Linked DNA regions of Homo sapiens: region 1 is linked to region 2. The links are contacts of gene promoters, found by promoter capture Hi-C in blood cells and fetal thymus (Javierre and others, 2016). All regions are on one chromosome and are shown on one strand. The core of a region is centred on a gene start or on the middle of the fragment in contact, and the rest is flanking DNA. Distances in the headings are between cores, read along the strand shown.

Region 1 (6,320 bases), core at 2,945-5,444, 200 kb after region 2:
CCCTCTTGCTTTTTCTCCTATGGCACCTCTTTCTCTAATGGGGCTGGAGCCATTATCTTGCTGGCAGGTTACACCAATGGTCTGGTTTTAGAAGCAAATTTGTAATTCTTTTAGTTTTGCTCAGCTTTTATGAATGAGCTCTGCAGGAAAACAGGTTCTTTGTGGCATGCACATATGACAAGTCATTTCTCTCTTCTGAGATCGCTAGGTAGAATAGAGAGTGATTTGAGGAGTCAAGATGAATCACAGAGGAAGATTTTTTTCCACTCACCTTACCACCATACTGTGCATTTATGCATCTATTTAAAAATTAACTTGTGACCCCTAGTAATGGTCGGTTCTCAGTCACGCACATAGCTTCCCTTTAAGACTGCTGTTAAAACTTTTCACTACAGAAGTGATTTTGACTTGTTAAGAGTGGACAGGTTAAGGGACTCCCAGGAATATCAGGTTAGTTTCAACCTTTCAATACAACCCAAATGGAGTAAATGTGTTTGGGACTATGTTTGCGACTATGCGTGTCTTGATTACATTTCTTTTAAAATTAATTATAAAGTATCAGACAACACATTACCTAGGATTTAATGGAGAGCTTTTCTGGGGTAAGTTTCAAAAAGCTATTTGAGAAATGCTTGAGAGGTCACTATCCTTTTATATTTGTCATTTACATCCTCCGAGTAACTTTGGACTACTTATGCAAATGACAACAAATAATGTTAATCTGTAGTGATTTCCTTGTGTATTACTCTGAATTGTAAAAATTTTATTTTGTTTTCCTAACTTTGGATATAACTGGCAAGGCATGATTGTGTTAGGATGAAAGAGTAATTTTCTGGAAATTCTTGGCAATGTATTGATTTGTTCTTTAATGACATTAAATTATCACAAACTAGCCTTTAGGCTAGTTTAATTCAGGTAATAAAAATAATGAAAAGGTATAAATATGAGTCTGTGATTCTATGTATATCTGAATGTATATGTATATGTAGAATATCTACGTAAGTATAGAAATAGAAATTGTTCAAATTAAAAATGAAGAAATTTTATTATTATTATTATTATTATTTTTGAGACAGAGTCTAGCACTGTCACCTGGGCTGGAGTGCAATGGTGCAATCTTGGCTCACTGCAACCTCCATTTCCTGGGTTCAAGCGATTCTCTTGCCTCAGCCTCCTGAGTAGCTGGGATTATAGGTGCCTGCCACCATGCCCTGCTAATTTTTTGTATTTTTAGTAGAGACGGGGTTTCACTATGTTGGTCAGGCTGGTCTTGAACTCCTGACCTTGTGATCCACCTGCCTCGGCCTCCCAAAGTGCTAGGATTACAGGCGTGAGCCACTGCACCCAGCCTATGATTTTAAAAATATGCAAAATGTCAGACAACTAATTTGTAATAAACTTTTTAATGCTATTATAATGTAAATTACATTTCATACCAGCAGAATCCATATATGACAAAATAACATGTGAACTTAATCAAGCTTTGAACTTTTTTCTATTAGAGTTGTACTACCTATAAAATTATATCTATTTTTTTCTTTCACAACTGGTACATTATGAATGTAAAATAAACTAAGATTTTATTAAAGCCTACAATTATTATATCTATTTAAAGTACTAAAAAACCAATAATACATATTTTTATTTGGTGTTATTTTAAATATTCTCAGCAAAATTAAAGTGAAGAAGTAGAAATAAAATCTCAATATTTTAAAAATGAGAATGATTAAGTATTATTTGATGTTAGTTTGAAAATTTGTAAGGAGTAGTCAATAATTAATAATAGAAATCAAATCACTTTATAAAGTAACTTTTTACTCCACATTTAAAACTTTATTTATATTTATTATTTTTACAGTATCCTTGATAATTCTATAGACATAGATATTACCAACTACATTTAAGTATGAAAGGTTAAAATGACCTTACTAGTATCACAACATTAAGGGTGAAGCTAAAATTAATAGCACAGGTTTTCTGCTTTCCCAACCAATAACTTAGCTGATTGATTCAGCTATTTTTTAAAGGCAGTATTTTTCAAAGGCAGTAAGTTTCATGATTAGTAACAGTGCTTTTGCCGATTTGTTTTAAAGAAATGTGTGTCTTCTACCTTCTGTATTTTGTTTTTGTTTAACTTTTGGAGATCTATTCAATTGCATTGAATTTAGTTTTGAAGTTTTCCAAGAATATTTATTTGTTATTATTTACATGGTCTTTTCTTCTATAACCATAATAATTTACTAAAAGTTTATTAGAATTAGTATTAATATTAATATGTTGTTAGAAATTAATACAGTCCAGAAGAATACTTATGTAAGGAAATTATATTTTTATTTAATAACAGTTTAAGAAAAATTAACAAGTTAGCCAATTTATAAAACCAAAAACTGTATTTTCAGCTTCTAATTAGGCTACAAGGAGATGTCCGATATTTGAGGTTTCTCTTCATGTGAAAGATACATGAGATGAAATTAAATTGGCTAGTCTTTGAAAGGATTCTAAGTTTTTTCTGATTTTCAAATCTAATATTTAGAAGTAAAATGGTAATTCATTCAAGTCAACAGTGGAGGTAAAAACATAACCCGCTTTCCCTTGAATCAAAAGATGTTTACAATAGCATGCTTGCTGCTGCAGAGTCTTTTGTGGTTGCCACTAATTACATGTTTTTCACATCAAAGTCTTCAAAAGGAATATAGGTACAAATTGACTCAATAAATATTTATTGGGTAAAGGAATTCAAGAAGGTTTCTGGGTATGGAAAAAATATATATAAAATACTAGTGAGATCTTTGTTAGAGATTTTCTACTTTGGCTGAATACAGAGCAGCCTGTCTCCCTATATTACTGGATCTTATCTTGAAATTATAGGCACCAAGCAAATGATACTATAGGGAATGTGTAGCACTAACATTTTAATTAAAATACAAAATGATAATCTGCATCGGGGTACAGCTAAGCATTTTATGAGTTCCAATTATATTAGTAATAACATTTTCATTTGATAACTAGATAACTGGGTAATTAAAAACATGTAATTAAAGCAAAGTCAAATCCTAATTTATAAAGCCAATGGAAACAAAAGAGCATAGTAAAACCCCATTAAAAAGTAGTTGCTACACCATTATGAATGAGATACATTTTTATCAATATCTTATAAAGCAAATAGATGTTGAATCCTGCCATATGCTTATGTATTAAAATACTAGAAGACCATATGATAAAGTAAGTCCCAAATCATAAACACAATACAAAATCCCCATGAGTTTTTTTTTGCCAGTCCAAAGCCATTGTGAATAGGCATAGGATGAAGCACAATGTTGGAAGATGATGAAGAATCACGATACAAAGCTTTAAAGATTGAGGTCAGAATCTAGCTTAGTAACTCAGAAACAATTAATTGCACAGTGCAGGTATATTATATTTTTGTTACCTGCATTGTTACTGCATTTCTCATCAGATGAAAGTAGGCAGAATCATTTAAATGTAGTCCAATTTAGAGCCCAGTATGAAGGGTGGTGGGGATGAAGGTACCATGGTTTTTGAGAGAGGAAAGGCCCAAATGTGCATTAACAATCATGAAGAAAGGGACTGGTTCAAGCAGGAGCCTTTATCCAGGAGTTCAAGGACAGATGGGAATTGGATTTTGTCTGGTGGACTTGATTGGCAAGGGTCGAAGAAGGCTGCTTAGCTGAGAAAACAGCACATGGCCTAATTATATCCACAACACAGGGATTTTTCAGTCCTCTCTTTAAAAATGAACTCTTCCTTGCATCTATGAAGCAATGTGAATCCTATCATTAACACTTCCTTCTTTGTTGCTGACAAAAATTAACTCCTAAACCCACCAACAGAGCTTGAAATGTCACAGTTCCCTTTAGAGTGACACAGACCTCTTCCTCCTCCTGGCAAAATCTTCTGCATGAATGAAGGTGGAGAGAGCCTTAGTGAGGTGACTATCTGATGTCTCAGTGCTACTCCCAAAGTCATAGTTTTTCAGGCAAGGGCACAAGCAGTGGACAATGGCCCGGCGGATGTAGCTGTCGAAGATATAGTAAATGAAAGGGTTGACACAGCTGTTGGCAAATGCCAAGGGTCCACTCACCTCCATACCAAGCTGAAGAATAGCTGAGGGTAAATAGTGTTCTTGCCGCAACCCAGAGACAATGGCCAGGAACTTGAAAGTATTGAAGGGCAGCCAGGAGACAAGAAAGGCTGCCACGACAATAAAGATGATCTTTATAGATTTCTTCAGCTTTTTGTTGTGCTTTCCTGATTGCTGGTAATGGGCACACAGCTTCCTTGCAATGCAACAGTAGCAGGTCACAATGCTCAACAAAGGGACAAAAAAGGTGAAAATTAAGGCCACCAGGGACCATATGAGTTTAATTGGAGTTGCCTTTTTCTCTGCACAGTATGGCTTATCATCAATCAGCGTGAGCTCCCTGGACAGAAGAGTAGGCAACCCCAGCAGGCAGGAGATAAACCAGATGCTGGCACAGACTACATATGCACAGTCTGTCCTTCTGAATTTCCTGGATACGACTGGCCACACAATGGCCAGGTAGCGGTCAACACTCATGCAAGTGAGCAGGAGGACACTGCAGTGCATATTGACGGAGATCATGTAGGAGCTCCCTTTGCACAGGAAGGAGCCCGTCCTCCACAGTCCTAGAGATGCTTCTTTATCCACCCAGAGAGGCAATGTGACAAGAAAAATGAAGTCAGAGGCAGCCAGATTGATGATAAAGATGTCGATCAGTCTTCGGCTGCCGGGTTTGAAATGCAACGCTCCCATGAGAACAAGGTTCCCCAGCACTCCAGTCAGGAACACAGCTGTGTAAAAGACTGGAAGGAAGACAGAGGTGTAAGGAACATGGGAGTGGGTCTCCCTGATGTCAGAGTTTGGGCTCGTAGCATAGTAATAATCCAAATAAACTGAAGTTTCTTCTGGGTCCATCACCAAAGAGCAGATGCCAAATCTGGTGAGTTTACTTACATATGATGTTTTTGTATAAATTTTAGAAACCTCAAGGAAGCTTCTTTTATACAGTGCCTGCCTCTCTCTCTCTTTTTTCCCCTCCCTTTAAAGATCTTGGACAAACATGAAAGCCGAGATTAAAAAATGCAGTTTCTACCAATCCTCAGAAAGGGCACACAAGGAGCACCACTCTGATTGGTGTTGGTTGGTTGTGGTTGTGGTTTTTTTAATTTGCATTTGCTCGTGAAACTGAGGTGCTTTTTGAGTTATTTTTTCAAGATATTCAATTTATTTCTTTAAGGCCAGTAATTAAGAAGTGAATTAACTTGATTTTTTCACTTCCTTTAAAGACCTCCTTTGCTTTTGACACTGAAATTTATTTTGATCTAGCCTTCTGTTTCACATAGAAGATATTGTTCTGCTTTTAGAATTGTAAGGCAATGATAATGTATTCTTTTTATTTACTTTGTTGGCGAACTAGGAAGAAAACTAGTCTTTCATTGTGTAAAGAGTGAATGAAAAGTTTCCCAAATCATACCAGTATACAACTAGGTCAAACAACATGATTCCATTTAGGGCATGAGAGTCTCCCCATCTATGTGGCTCTTTCATTTGACATGTAGTCAATCCTGTTTCATAAGTTTTTAAAAATCCCCCCCCAAAGACTGGGACCACGTTTTCTGCTCTTATTATTTTAAGTTTTCCACTACAACTTGCATAGCATCTTGCATATAGTTGGTGCTTTGGAAATTGTAGTTTATTAGGTTTGATTCAGAAAATTCTTTTTGTTATCCAGCATATCTAGTAGAAATGAATTCATTGGGGTCTAACTTCAGGTATTGTTGTTATTTATGTAACTTACAAACACAGGTTTAACAATCTCAAGTTGCTATTTTTACCCTCCTATCTGCTATTGTAATTCAACCAGTGAAGTTCTCTTTTGTTAAGAGTTAACATCATTGATTAGGAGATTTTCTCCCTATTAACCCTCAAATACGCTTCATCAGACTCTGGATCCCCTCTGATCTTCTCTTCATTATACCACACCTGTGTAGCACTGATTTTTTTAGCTTCTGAGCCATGGCCTTCTGGTACCTCCACACATGGGTGAACATCACTTTTGGAATTGCTGATTGCTGATCTGGCAACAGATATACCTATAAGTGACATCATGATGGAGGTGCCAGCATGGACACTATAAAAGGGAAGATTTTTTAGTACATTTAAAACACTTGGGGAACAGGCTAAAACAGAAAGAATTCTATCACATTTTTCTCTCATATGTTTCCTTTTATATTATGATGACCATAGTAAAATATAACACATTTTGAAACGGACTCCA
Region 2 (6,516 bases), core at 4,017-6,516:
GCACAGATCCAAACCATATCACTATCTTTGTCTTTTGTGGTTTTTGTTGGTTTAAAGTCTGTTTTGTCTAAAATTAGAATAGCAACCCCTGCTTTTTTCTGTTTTCCATTTGCTTGCCAGACTTTTCTCCATCCCTTTACTTTCAGCCTTTGGATATCATTGAATGTGAGATAGGTCTCCTGAGGTTTCAGGTTTTATGCCACTGTGTTAATCAGAAAAGCCATAATTTAGTTGTTTTGTATGTTAGTTAAGTATGTGAGTTAACAATGGGCCAAAGAATCTCAAAAATAATTTTCTATCTAAAAATTGTGCCAAGTCTCCCTAGATACTAATAGAGTGGTGATGATGAGACATCTTGAAATCAAAGGACAAGAGGATAAAAGGAATACTGTATAGGCGTCTCTGAGCTCTGCCTGTCTTTGTGATATTCCTGTGCTCTGCCCTAGGGAAAAGAGAGGGGAAATCAGTTATGGTAAATTAGTAGAAAGAAAAAAAGGCAACTAAGGGTAGAAATTTGTGTGTTTATGTGTGTGAGAGAGAGAAAGAGAGACAGAGAGACAGGAAGGGGCCGCGTGTGGTGGCTCACGCCTGTAATCCCAACACTTTAGGAGGCCGAAGTGGGCGGATCACCTGAATTCAGGAGTTCAAGACCAGCTTGGCCAACATGGCGAAACCCCATCTCTACAAAAAAAATACAGAAAATAGCCAGGTGTGGTGGTGCATGCCTGTAATCCCAGCTACTTGGGAGGCTGAGACAGGAGAATCACTTAAATTCAGGAGGCAGAGGTTTTAGTGAGCGGAGATCGAGCCACTGCACTCCAGCCTGGGTGACAGAGCAAGACTCCACCTCAAAAAGAAAGAAAAAGAAGAGACAGGAAAGCCTATCATGACTGGGTGAAGACTGAATTAGGCTCTCATCAAAAATCTCCAGGCATGCCAATTCTAACTAGAATACGATTCAAACTCCACAAAATCTGCCTTCCTATCTTACTGACTACATCTCCTCCCACTCCGTCTTTTGCACTCTTCTTTAACTACATATTGTCTTAACCACTCTCTTCTCACACTGCACCTTCTGTTTCTCAAACGACCCAAATTCACTCATGCCTCATGTATTTGTAACTCATTTTTTGACTCTGCCCCCCATAAAACATAAGCTCTGTAAGAGCAGGGGCTTTGCTGTGTCCAACACGGCACGCTCCCAACCCCACCCACAAGAACATCTCTTGTTACATGGTGGACATTCAGTGAATGTTGGTTGACCATTAGGGAAGTCCCATCTCATGGATGACCACATGGAATATCACCCAAAGTCCACTGAAAAAAACACTTTCTGCTCCCTTGTTGCCCCCATCTTTCAGCATAGTGACTCTGACCCACAGCCATAACAACTCCAGGCCTGCTTCCACAACCTGTGGAAGGTGAGAATAACCCTCCCACCTCTGGAGGAATCTCCAGCTTCCTTGCCGTCTCCTCTTCTGGGGGCCTTGTTCTCATCATGTCCTAAAGATCTTTCCATTCCCAACCAAATAAAAAGTAAATCAATGTTTAAACCATCTTTCAAAGCCTAGCACTAAATACATTGCAAAGTATGCAATGATGCTATCTGTATACTTTGTCTTAGGCTAAGCATATAAGAAGGGGAAAGAGAGAATGGGGGAGAAGATAACTTTTCACTCAGCTTTCCAATGTTTTTAAGAAAATCTCCTAAGGGCTAGGTGCTTTCCTTTCCCTCTATCTCAATGGTGCAGGAAGAGGAAGGCCCCTGGTCAGATACAAAAGTTTGTGGCAGTAAAAAGGTAAACTGGACAATCCTCCTAGATGACCAAAAGCTCTCCAAGAAAAACAAACATGGGCACAAGGAAGAAAACCAGGTCTTACTGATCCTGTTATCTTTTACTTTCATAACCTCACTGCCAGAATCTCAGCACTTCTTAGCCTGATTATACGACAGTCAAGTTCCTGACCAAGTCTGAGACACTGCAGCTGATTCAGTGCTGAGGTGTCACCATCAGGGGAAAGAACTCCAGCTATCCCACAATGGTGAGGGAATTGTGTTTCTGACATCCTGATATGGAATTGTAAATAAAATTTCCTACCAAAACACTATAATATCCAATGTATACATTCTATTCCATGCATCAAGCTCACTCCAAATCAAAATCCATTTTAACCCCTAAGGGTTAAATTGGAAACTGTGATGTGTGATGTGTGCTATTATCCATCACAGTTGGGACAGACAGGAGAGAATGTTTCATTTCAACTGTGAGGGTGGGGATGTAACCCTGGGAAAACCTCTTCCAGGTAACATATAGCTTGAGTAGGAGCTTCAGTGAAAATGTATTCAGAAAGGAAAGAACTTTTGGAATATGCCCATTGAAGACAGCATAAACTCCTAGATTTCGCCAGACCCTGATCACCTAAGTGACACATCAGAGATGTGCAGAAGATAGAAGGTTCCTGGCTGGTGAAAGTCTAAAGCTGTCACAAGGAAGGCAAAGTACGCAGACCACCTATTCAAAAAGCCCAGCCTGGGGATAACTAGAAAGGCATATTCAGACCAAGGTATATATAAATGGAGGATATGCCAGGCAAAGGAGAAAGATATGCACAGGAAATGGAAGAATTTGTGCAGAATGTATACTGCAGAGGATTCCTGGGATGGTGTAGGCAGAGGTAGAGTCAAACCTTTATGTGAGCCACTGCAACTCAACCTAAGGCAATCTTGGTTTTTTAAGCTATAAAATGGGGCTAAAAATTCCTTTCTTGCAGGAGTTTTGTCAGGAAGATTAAATAAAATAGCATATGAGAACACACCAAAAATCAGAGTGGGTGCCAAATAGGAGTTCCATGCTTCCTTCACCTTCTCAATAAGCATCACCTAAAATGCATACTAAACAGATCTCTGGTCACCACTCCTGGATGGAAGCACAATTTCCATGGAAGCCATCTGGCAGTCTGCATGGTTAGCAGATGATGCTTATCAGGGAAATGCGGGAAACATGGCATTACTCACGTCTTCTCCCATAAGGTTCCACATGATGTGGAACACAGAAATGTCTCCAACAGAAGAAAACTGCTGTGAAATCCAGTCGTCTGCCACTGAATGAGAACACCTACGATTTACAATTTCACAGGAGACAGACTAATGTTTTTAAATGGTATGTCTCTTAATGGTATTATTCTGTCAATACTGTCTATTCTTGAGCCTCAAAGGTTTTTTATTATTATTATTGATATAGGGCATAAGAACAAACTATCTCCAACAAATCTACTGAAATGTAGTCAAAATTGCAGTCCCATTTTACTGCACCATGTAAACAACATATGGTGCAATCTGGGACTGAGACATTGTGGAACTATAGTAAAAATACAATTCAAGGAAAGCGACATCACAAGGAATGAAGATCTCCCCTCCCAGTCTACATGACCACAAGAACAGCTTAGGAAACCAGACCAATGCAACACTTTCTAGAAAAATTATCTTCTTATAAGCAAAGTTGCCATTATCCAAAGACCCTCTGTGGAATTTGGCCTTACTCAGAGACAATAAACTAAATAACAGTCTAAGGGCATCGTTTTTCGCAGATCTTGGTATGAAAAGCGTTCTTAGTGAAACAAAAAGGAAGCAACATAAACCAACTTGCAAATGTCAAATCGGCATGCTTTCAAACGGAAAATAACCTGGCAGCCTGAGCAGATGTTCCCAAATATTTAACATCTCCCTGTAAATAAAAAGACAGTTTTATGGTCTGCAGCTAGGTGAGGAAGATTGAGGACCGGAAAGTCAAACATTCGGGCTAGCCTAAAAGAGGTGGCCGCTGGAGACCCGAAGAGTTACGAGGTTCAAAGGTCAGCGTGGACACGAGACCACAGACCACGAGGAGCTTTCAGCAGATCTACAGTTTCCTTAACTATCCACCTACTCACAGCACCCAGCTGGTCCTCGTAAGGCAAATGGGACTTACGACTTTAGACTCGGTGTGATTTCTGATACACTAGCAGTCACCACGTTATTTTCATCCCTACCCCCACACACTGTTTTTAAACATTACCTTTCAACAGCAACCTCTTCTCCCCCTCCTGCTCCTCCCCACTGTCCCCGCCAACCCTCGCTACTGAAAAATCCTAAAAGAAGGTGCTTTGGGTTTGTTTTTGGTTTCTGGGCGTCGCTTTTTATAGGTTTTCTTTTAAGCCAAAATAACAGCACACAAGAAAGAGGCTTGAGATTGCCGGGATCTCCGGAGCCGGCGGCCTCAAAATGACAAGTTGCTTCTCCCTTATCTTGAAAATTAACAGCAGCCCAAACACTGCAATTTACTCACCGTCCTCCTTTCTCCTAAACTGCCTCGGAGCTTGTTTTGTTAGGTCTAGTTCCATTGTGGAGGGAAAAAGGGTTTCTCGAAAAACTTTATACGGTAAGAGACCAGAACCTTCCAGACCCCTCAACCCTCCTCGCGTACAGACCCTTTTACAAGAAAACAATAGTGAACGAGGAGCTGGACACTCCTCTTGGCTTCCCAATTGCACAACCTCGCCGGCGATTCGACAAAAGAGGGTCCCAGAGCAGATTCTCTCGGCCCCCACGGCTCCTGGGCTTACCCGCGAGGCTGCGCGTCCCTCCCGCCCTTCACTGGGGCTCCAGGATCCCCGGGTGCCCTCTCGGCGGTGGCTGCGGCGCACGCCGGCTGGCTCGCGGGTCCCAGCGCCCATGGTCCCTTTACGCCTCCGCACGCCACCTCCTTGGTGCTGGCAGGATATGTGGAGGGGCAAACAGCGCTCCGTGTCCCCACCCCCAACCCTGAGCCTCAGAGGCTGCAAAGCCGGAGGGTCGGGGCAGCACAGACCCCAGGCCGCCCGGACCCCGGCCCAGACCGGTCTTCCCGCACCCCCAATTTCCCTCACCCGGGCAGTGCAAACCCGCAGCGAAGCCGGCCGGCAAGAGTGACCCGCCGAGGCCCAGGAGCGACGACCGCAGAGGCGCACCGGGCTCCGAGACCTGAGGGGCCGCTGCTCCAGCCGGCTGCTGCCTCTCTCGCGGCGCCTGCCACATCGGGCCGCAGAAGCCCGAGGCCGGCAGAAACCAAAGGAAGGTGGCGCGGGCCAGGGGCGGCGCGGGCACGATTCCTTCCCCGCGGATCTGGCGGGGGAGCAGAGGAGGGAGCAGCCCTGCCCGGAGTCTCAGGCTCCCGCCAGCCCCAATCCCGGGCGACTGCGCCGAGCGCCTCCGGAGTCGCGGGAAGCTCCTCCTGCTCCGCGGCTGGCGCCAGTTGCACGGTGGCCGCCCCCAAATTCGAGGAGGAAGGTGCAAAGTGGTGGGAGGCTGCGGGTCTCCCGGAGGGTGAGGCGTTGGGGACCAGGCGGGAGCACAGCCGAACCCCTACCTTTCGGGCGGGGCGGACACCAGCCGCGCGCCCTCGCCGGGCGCCGGGACCGGAAAATCACCGCGAAGGGAGGGACGAGGAAAGGCGGCGGGTGGCTTCAGGACAAGGTAGGAGGATCGATTTCCACAGCCAAGAAGACACTCCCATCCCGCCCTGGTTTGTTTGGAAAGCTGCAGGAGCTAAAGTGAGGGGTGGCCGGGTACTCCCCTTCCCCGCCCGGCTGGCAGGCGGCAGAAGTAAACACTGAGGCTTGTGGCGCCGCGGACTGACTGTGACACAAGGCTCAGCAGAAGGTTTGGTCCCTATCAGAAGGGGAGGAGTGTTCAGAGAGCTCCTGAATTCCGGGGCTCTGCCCTTCAAGGGCAAATGTGTTCGTACTTTTTATCTTTTGAAGGAGATAAATTACTTTAGGGAGAACGAAGGTGGAACGTGCTGTTTGCGTTTTCTTTTCTCTCCATAGGCAAAACCCTACGTTATTAATGTCCTCTTACTTGGATGGCTCTGAATACTTTTTAAAGTGTGTTTGTCAAATAATTCCTTGTCTAGAAACATTCAAGTCATAGCTCCAACCTTTGGGCCCTGAGCAGTGTAATCACGTGCCATCAATTGACCCCAGAGAGAAGACCCACGGACTTGGATGTAATTCAAAGTTGGCAATGTGTCACGAACTGGAACAAAGTCCTTCATCTGTGATGGGCTTTCTGGTATTTGTCCTTTTTTTTTTTTTTTTTTTTGAGACAGAATCTTGCTTTGTCACCCAGGCTGGGGTACAGGGGCATGATCTTGGCTCACTGCAACCTCTGCCTCCCAGGCTCAAGCGACTCTCCTGCCTCAGCCTCCCGAGTAGCTGGGATTACAGGCTGGGATTACCACTCCCAGCTAATTTTTGTATTTTTAGTAGAGATGAGGTTTCATTATGTTGGCCAGGCTGGTTTCGAACTCCTGACCTCAAATGATCCGCTCGCCTCCACCTGCCAAAGTGCTCTGGTATTTGTCTTAATTGTAATAACAGCCCTAGGAGGTATCATTTGTTGTTTTCCCAACCTTACTTTAAAAAAAAAATGGCCGGGCGCCGTGGCTCACACCTGTAATCCCAGCACTTTCGAAGGCCGAGGCGGGCGGATCACGAGGT

Evidence for each region. Contacts are between HindIII fragments. The CHiCAGO score rates a contact against its expected background, and 5 or more counts as called.
Region 1: a fragment that was not itself captured here is called in contact with the fragment with the promoter of ST3GAL6-AS1 in region 2 in 1 of 17 cell types (neutrophils); the score reaches 5.6 in neutrophils.

What each region holds. Positions count from the first base shown.
Region 1 is chr3:98,530,671-98,536,990 of GRCh38, reverse strand. It overlaps GPR15 (G protein-coupled receptor 15), which reads right to left and starts at 5,013. Exons shown (of 1, transcript NM_005290.4): 1 at 2,310-5,013. The coding sequence starts at 4,957. The coding sequence ends at 3,875. RefSeq lists a silencer at 4,993-5,152. The HindIII fragment of the contact is 1,688 bases long and covers 3,351-5,038 here.
Region 2 is chr3:98,731,401-98,737,916 of GRCh38, reverse strand. ST3GAL6-AS1 (ST3GAL6 antisense RNA 1) reads left to right here and starts at 5,266. Exons shown (of 5, transcript NR_046683.1): 1 at 5,266-5,491. It also overlaps a transcript of ST3GAL6 not described here. RefSeq lists enhancers at 4,304-5,051, 5,052-5,800. The HindIII fragment of the contact is 17,493 bases long and covers 1-6,516 here.